2 separate regions of the Homo sapiens genome follow, and region 2 is linked to region 1. The links are contacts of gene promoters, found by promoter capture Hi-C in human tissues and cell types (Jung and others, 2019). All regions are on one chromosome and are shown on one strand. The core of a region is centred on a gene start or on the middle of the fragment in contact, and the rest is flanking DNA. Distances in the headings are between cores, read along the strand shown.

Region 1 (4,077 bases), core at 1,449-3,948:
TGATTTAAAAAAGAAAAACCACAACATACTGGAAAGGCTCTCATTGTAAATTGCCCCAGACTGCCTGGCTTTGGTGAATCTCAAGGCTGACTTTAAAATGGAGTTTTTTTTTCCTGCTTCCTTCCATGGCTATCAAGCAAGCCAGCAACAGAAAATTTCATTTACATTTAGCATTTTCTGTCCCAGTGGTCTCCTCTCTCATCTGTCTCTATGTTGATCAAGAAGATATGTGGGCTTTCTGGTACAGGGTCTAAAATAAACATGAACAGCTCCCCAGAAAGGGCAAAGGGTTTTCTCATGAGTAGGGTGTGTGAGCTTCTGTGTGGGCTGCACAGCCTCCTTTTGATGCTGAGAGGCCTTCGGGTTTTTCTTTTTCCATCTTTCTGCTACGTTCCAAAATGTTGATACTATTTTCCAGGTAAGTGAGGTTTTACCGTACTACTGTGTTCTTGGAATATTAATTTCTGTCTTTGATTATATATCTTTTCATATATAGTAAATTTATGTTGCTATTTATATTTTAAAATGACCAATTTCCCTCCACTGGCCTCATAATAAAAGAAATAAAAGTCTCCTGTTGGCTAAACGTTAAGTACATAGCTTTGGATTTTTTTTCCTCCCTGGAGCCTCAGAACGTGTACAGGTGTCCTACATGCCTTTTACAAAAAAAGAATCAAGGGCTAGGAACCTAGGTTTTGAACGTGCATTCAATGTACATTCATAATAAAAGCTGAACGACTGGCACATTCATGGTTGCTCCTTGATGTAAATGAACGGCTGAATGAAAGTTTAGGGGCACAGCTCACCTCCAAGAGAGACCCTCTTCACACTTAGACCTGACCAAGGGATCTTGAATTCCCTTGTAAAACTAGCTTTTCCTCTCCATAGCAGCTGGCCTCTTCCTCCCGGTATCTTTGTAATCCGGCTGGGTGTTTTTTTTTCTTTTTCTTTTTTTTTTTCCCACACTGCCGTTGGATAAAAGATCCCGCCTTTGATTGAAATGGAATCTTCCACTATTGAGCAAGCCTTTGTTGAATGAGTCATCGGGGCGGCCGCTCATTGGCTGAGGCCGCTGGAGCCCAGGGGATTGCCTGGCACCGGCTGCAAGGCCCTGCTTCATTCACAGAAACGCTGGCTCGCTCGCTAGCCTTTTCATTCACACAAACAGCATTTCATTCACATTTTGCGGTTTTTGTCTGCATCTAATGAAGATCTCGCTTTGGGAATGATAGGGCTGTTTCGCTACAGATCTGGGGAGGACTCTGATAACCATCAAAATCATCTATGGGGTGTGCAATTGCTGTTGCTATGCAAGCTAGGGAAAGGGAACAAATGAGTGCCGTGTAGCTGTTCTGCTAGGGCTGCGGCACAGGAGGCGAGCCGTGGGGACGCGTTTCCTGTACCGGGGACGCCGCGGCTCCTCTGCGCTCTTGCGTCCTAGGGGTTGGCCTCACCCGCTCGCCCGCCATGAGTGGCGCTCATTAAACTCTGCTCCATAGAGCAGGGTTCAAGACTCAGGACCTCACGTGCCCCACATGTTCGGTCATGGGAGTGAGAGGACTCAGGGTGACCTGAGAGTGTGCTAGAGCTGAATTTATTCGCTTGCTCAGAAGTTGCGGGAAAACTTTGATAGTGAGTGTTTCACTGTGGAGCAGGTGATCCTAATGCATGAGGAAGCCTGGCAGAGCCCACTGAGGTCAAGAGTCAGAGGGCTTCAGTCTCGGGCAGACCTCTGGGGACAGCGAAAGCCTTGCTCTCCTAACTGAGAGGAAGAAGGCCTGTGCATTTTACTTGCAAGCCCGAGCCTGACTCCTGAAAAGAAGGCATATTTTCCTCCTTGTGGATTTGATGTGCAATAAGAACAGCTGCATTTTTTCCTTCCTGACTGCAGGGTTGCAAGCAGCAACTGAAGGAACATTGAAATGTATTTGTAGCATTTCTTAGGCGTTTTTCCAGAGCTTAAACACATTCAGTAGGATTAAAGCTTCAAATGCAGCCCCTTTTTTGGAATGGATTTCTGGAGCCTGTTGCCACTCGTGAAAGAAGCACTCTTCTTTTTTGGAAGTGGATATTCAACTTAACCCTGGCTGAGAAAGACTGCTGTAAATGAGCAGGGAAGACCCCTTGATTGGCACTGTGCAGAAGTTCATATGCAGATTTTTTTTTTTTTTTTTTTTTGAGGAACTGCATTGCCACAAAGACACTTGTCATCGCTGCTCTGTTAATTTGAAAAGAAAAAGCAAAACCCAGGAAATTGGTATTTTACAGTCACCTGGGGGTGAATATCCTTTTTGTTTTTTTCTATTTAAAAATTCCTGCTGCCTTCCAAGTCAAGATTCATCAGGATTCGCTGAAGATCTGATTCTTAAAAAGCCTTCGTCACATTTTAACGCATCGCTGTTAGACACTTTTACAGGCTCACACAGATGGGCTGAGCAGGGACGAGCAAAACCTAACAGAATAATGGGTTTCAGAAAGTTCATTTGACGATTTGAAGGAACTGGATTGGATTTACCTTTGGCACAAATGCAGATTGCGGGGGATGGGAAGGTGAAAAATCAAAGGTTGGAAGGAAATATCTGGGAAGGTAGAAAAAGGAAATTTGAGAATTGATTGGCTATAGTGTGCTGTCAGCGGGTGGATGTCGTTTTTTTCTTCTTTTTTTCCTTTTTTTTCTTCTGCTACAGGAAGTGATTTGCAGTGCTCACCGAGCCTTTGTTGAGAAGGGTCTCCTCTCAGAGTGAGTCATGCTTTTGCTGTGAGCAGCCCCAAGCAGCTGGGCGCTCCATCAGAGGCAACTATGACTTTTGCAAAGCAAACGTGCAACCCCAAGCAGCGGTCTCCCGGGCCGGGGCTGCGCGGCCGCCGCTGTGCTGGCTTTTAACGGTGGGAGGGCACCATCCTCTTGCTCTGCTCTCGTTCTCCAGAAGGCTGTCCCGGGGCCCCCACTCTCCGTCCCGCTCCGGGGACAGTGGCTCGCCTGCTATGCGCGGCAGCCCGCGCCGGGGCCGGCACCAGCAGCGCCCGGGCGGATGCAGCGAGCCCACGGAGGGGCATGCTTCCACGCACCAAGTATAACCGCTTCAGGAATGACTCGGTGACATCGGTCGATGACCTTCTCCACAGCCTGTCGGTGAGCGGCGGCGGAGGCAAGGTTTCGGCGGCGCGCGCGACCCCGGCGGCGGCTCCCTACTTGGTGTCCGGCGAGGCGCTGCGCAAGGCGCCCGACGATGGGCCCGGCAGCCTGGGCCACCTGCTCCACAAGGTGTCCCACCTGAAACTCTCCAGCTCGGGCCTCCGCGGCCTGTCGTCGGCCGCCCGGGAGCGGGCGGGCGCGCGGCTCTCGGGCAGCTGCAGCGCGCCCAGCCTGGCCGCCCCGGACGGCAGTGCGCCCTCGGCGCCCCGCGCCCCGGCCATGAGCGCCGCCAGGAAGGGCCGGCCCGGCGACGAGCCGCTGCCCAGGCCCCCTCGGGGGGCGCCGCACGCCAGCGACCAGGTGCTGGGGCCCGGAGTCACCTACGTGGTCAAGGTGGGTGCGGGCGCGGGCCGCCCTGGGGGCTGGGGGTTCTGGGGCCAGTTCGGGGCAGACTCCTTCATTCCCTGAAGCCCGGGGTGCGGGGCGCTCCCGCGACTGTCACGTTAGAGGCAAGCAAATGCGCACTCCTTAGCAATCAGCTCGCTTGACAGCGGTGAGGAGGGAACTACAAATGCGCTTTTCCCGCATCCATTGGGAAAAGGTTTACCACTCGGGTGGCCCGCTCCGTCCCGGTTTTCCCTAGGCTCCACTTTTTTGGCACGCCTTTGCCACCTGGCTTACCAGATGTCTGACCAGTGTCATGGGCGCCCAACCCTGGGCAGCGGGGGTCCGGCCTGCCTAGTATCTAGGAAACGCGCTGGGGAGAGCTGGGCAGCCCCCGGGAGGAGAGATGCACGGAGTGGCGGCCCTACTCCTGCTGTGTCTTCCCCGGCGGGAGGGTGGGTATCTTGTTGCCCCCCGCAGCAAGAATTCCCAGCTCCTTGCAGAGCAGGCCAAATGCTGTGCTGCTTTCTCTTCGACGGGCTTTACTTTCTCACCCA
Region 2 (3,759 bases), core at 579-3,078, 150 kb before region 1:
AAAGTGCTATCAGCATGTTAGAAGTAGCGTGTTGAAAATGGGCTGTCAAAGCGGCTTGACTCTGTTACAACCTTTTCCTTCTGAGGCACCACAATACCTTTCAGCTACCATATAAAAAGGAGTATACTAGATTGGGCACGGTGGCTCAAGCCTGTAATCCCAGCACTTTGGGAGGCCAAGGCAGGTGGATCACCTGAAGTCAGGAGTTGGAGACCAGCCAGACCAATATGGTGAAACCCCATCTCTACTAAAAATACAAAAAAATTAGCCAGATATGGTGGCATGTACCTGTAGTCCCAGCTACTCCGGAGGCTGAGGCAGGAGAACTGCTTGAACCCGGAAGGCGGGGATTGTAGTGAGCCAAGAAGCCAAGATCGTGCCACTGCACTTCAGCCTGGGCAACACAGTGAGACTCCCTCCCCACAAAAAAAAAGGTATACTAGGTGATTCTTTTAAAACAATAGCTACAGCCGGGCACAGTGGCGTGGGTGGCTCACGCCTGTAATCCTAGCACTTTGGGAGGCCCAGGCAGGCGGATTGCCTTAGCTCAGGAATTCAAGACCAGCCTGGGCAACATGGTGAAATCCCGTCTCTACTAAAATACAAAAAAAAAATTAGCCAGCGTGGCAGTGTGCGCCCGTAGTCCCAGCTACTCGAGAGGCTGAGGCAGGAGAATTGCTTGAACCCGGGAGGCGGAGGTTGCAGTGAGCTGAGATCGTGCCACTGCACTGCAGCCTGGTGACAGAGCGAGACTCCGTTTCAAAAACAAAACAAAACAAAACAAAACGCACAAATAAAACAATAGCTGCACTAGATGTTACAGCCTCATTATAAACTGTTCAAACAAAGAAGGTCATATAAGTGCACAATGAAAGGCTTCCCCCAATACATCCTCCCCAGCTCCATGGACATCAAAGCCCACAGCAAGATTTAATGTGTAATGTTTGAAATGAGACAATTTAAAGTGTACAAAGGAAAAAGAAAAAGAGAGAAACCCTCACCTCACCTTTGATAACACTGCAGCTGGTTTTACTACTTCTCTTAGAAGAGAAATGTCGGTAGAGACAGAGTGGACAGGTCCCCACTTGGGTTGCTTCTGTATCTCTGACATATTGTTCTCTGCACCTTGCAGTTCAGGAAAGTCCAGTGTGGTAAATTCAAACTCAGGTTTGGAGGTAGATACATTTTTTGCAATGATTCTGGATTTCCTGTCTGTTCGCTTATGGTAACCATCTGTAATTACAAAATTAAAAGTAAGAGTAAAAATTTAGTTACTGTTTGATGACCAGTATGCAAGCAAAAATTGCAGAGTACAAAGACTATTGCTATTGATGCAACAGGTTGTTGTCAAAACACCGTAACTCTTACCGGTGTTGTTCACCTTCCTTTGTAAAAGTATAAAGTTTAAATGACCATAAGTATCAATCACTCTGGTTGGACCATCATGCAGAAAAACCAAAATGCACTGTACATTTAGGAGTATGTATAGTCACGCGCCACATATGATGGTCTGATCAGCAATGGATTACGTATACAACAGCCCCATAAGATTGTAATGAAGCTGAAAAATTCCTATTGTCTACTGGTAATGTCATGGTGCGATTACTCACGTTTGTGGTGATGCCAGTGTAAACAAACCTACTGAGCTAACAGGCATATAAAAGTATAGTACATGCGATGATGTACTGTACATAATACTCGGTAATGACAATAAACAACTATGTCACTTGTTTATGTATTATACTTTTTATCTTTGGAGTATATACTCCCACTACTTACAAAAGAAAAATTTGGCCAGGGCAAGGTGGCTCACGCCTTAATCCCAGCACTTCGGGAGGCTGAGGCAGGCAGATGCAGCCACGAGTTCCAGACCAGCCTGGCCAACATGGTAAAACCCCAACTCTATTGAAAATACAAAAATTAGCTGGGTGTGGGGGCGCATGCCCCCTAGCTACTTGGGAGGCTGAGGCACAAGAATTGCTTGAACTTGGGAGGCAGAGGTTGCAGTGAGCCAAAATAGTGCCACTGCACTCCAGCCTGTGTAACACAGTGAGACTCTGTCTCAAAAAAAAAAAAAAAACACAAAACGACAAAAGAAAAACTTAAGTATAAAGCAGCTTCAGGCAGGTCCCTCAGGAGGGATTCCAGAATAAGGCATTGTTATCACAGGAGATGACAGCTCCACGCATGTTACTGTCCCTGAAGACCTTCCAGTGGGACAATATGTGGAGGTGGAAGACAGTGATACAGATGATTCTGACCCTGTACAGGCCTAGGCTAATGTGTGTGGTTGTGTCTTCGTTTTTAATTAAAAAGTGTAGAAAGTTAAAAAAAAATTAATAGAAAAAAGCTTATAGAGTAAGGATGTAAAGAAAGAAAATATTTTTGTCCAAGCCAAGTATTTTTGGTTTTTCTGCATGTTTGTGTTTTATTACAAAAGGTAAGTGTTATTACAAGAGTCAGAAAGTTAGAAAAATTAAAAATGTATAAAGTAAAAAAGTTACAGTAAGCTAAGGTTAATTATTGAAAAAAATACTTTTATAAATTTCATGTAGCCTAAGTGTACAATGTTTAGAACGTCTCCAACAGTGTACAGTAACACCCTAGGCCTTCACATTCACCCACCACTCAGTCATCGAATCACCCAGAGCAACTTCCAGTTCTGCCAGCTCCATTCATGGTAAGTGCCCTATACGGGTAAAACATTTTATATCTTTTTTTTTTTTTTGGAGACGGAGTCTCGCTCTGTCTCCCAGGCTGGAGTGCAGGGACGCTTGATCTCGGCTCACTGCAAGCTCCGCCTCCCGGGTTCATGCCATTCTCCTGCCTCAGCCTCCCGAGTAGCTGGAACTACAGGTGCCCGCCACCACGCCAGGCTAATATTTTGTATTTTCAGTTGAGACGGGGTTTCACCGTGTTAGCCAGGATGATCTTGATCTCCTGACCTCGTGATCCGCCCGTCTCGGACTCCCAAAGTGCTGGGATTACAGGCGTGAGCCACCGCTGTACCTTTTCTATATTTTGATACACAAATACTTACCACTATGTTACAACTGCCTACAATATTCAGTACAATAATATGGTCTAAAGGTTTATAACCTAGGAACAACAGGCTATATCATATAGCCTAGCTAGGTGGTTGGCTATACCATCTAGGTCTGTGTAAGTACACTCTAAATGTTCCCACAATGACGAAATCACCTAAGGGCACATTTCTCAGAATGTGTCCCCATCAGTAAGTGAGGCATGACTATAATTCTAAGGCTGATGAAATAGTTACCTTAACCTGATTGTGCAGCTGGGCATTTTAATTATTCTTTTTAGACATTTTATTGTATTGCAAATTTAAAGGGACTCTAATGAATTTTCTGTGCTAGTAAACTTTCCATCTTTCAGTTTGCTGGAATAAACTAGAGGGAAGCAGGTAGCATAAAACGCATAACCTCTTCCCCATCTTTCTCCTGAAATGCAATGGATAAGGTAGGCTGCAGCTACATGAAGCCACTCATTTAATTATAAGACCACAGTTACTACAGTTAATAAACGTCCCTTGTACCAGATGGTTTATGAGTGAAGTCAATGAAAAGAGAAAAATGTATATACCAAATAATACAAATTATAGGCACTTAAGATCCCACAATGCAACAGGTACCAAATAATAATCCCATCCCTGGGAAGAAATACCTCTAGAATTGCTCAGGAAGTCTGACGCCCTAAGCTGTGTCAGACCCAGGTCTCATTTCTTGGAGTAGTCACAAT

The links. Contacts are between HindIII fragments. The study calls those that stand out against the background at their distance.
Region 2: a fragment that was not itself captured here is called in contact with the fragment with the promoter of SHC3 in region 1 in 1 of the 25 tissues and cell types used here (aorta).

The regions. Positions count from the first base shown.
Region 1 is chr9:89,177,439-89,181,515 of GRCh38, reverse strand. SHC3 (SHC adaptor protein 3) reads left to right here and starts at 2,698. Exons shown (of 12, transcript NM_016848.6): 1 at 2,698-3,529. The coding sequence starts at 3,056. The HindIII fragment of the contact is 9,677 bases long and covers 1-4,077 here.
Region 2 is chr9:89,326,134-89,329,892 of GRCh38, reverse strand. It overlaps SECISBP2 (SECIS binding protein 2), which reads right to left. Exons shown (of 17, transcript NM_024077.5): 5 at 1,007-1,233. Among named protein-coding and RNA genes, the nearest start is that of SECISBP2, 9.5 kb to the right of the region's middle. The HindIII fragment of the contact is 3,215 bases long and covers 221-3,435 here.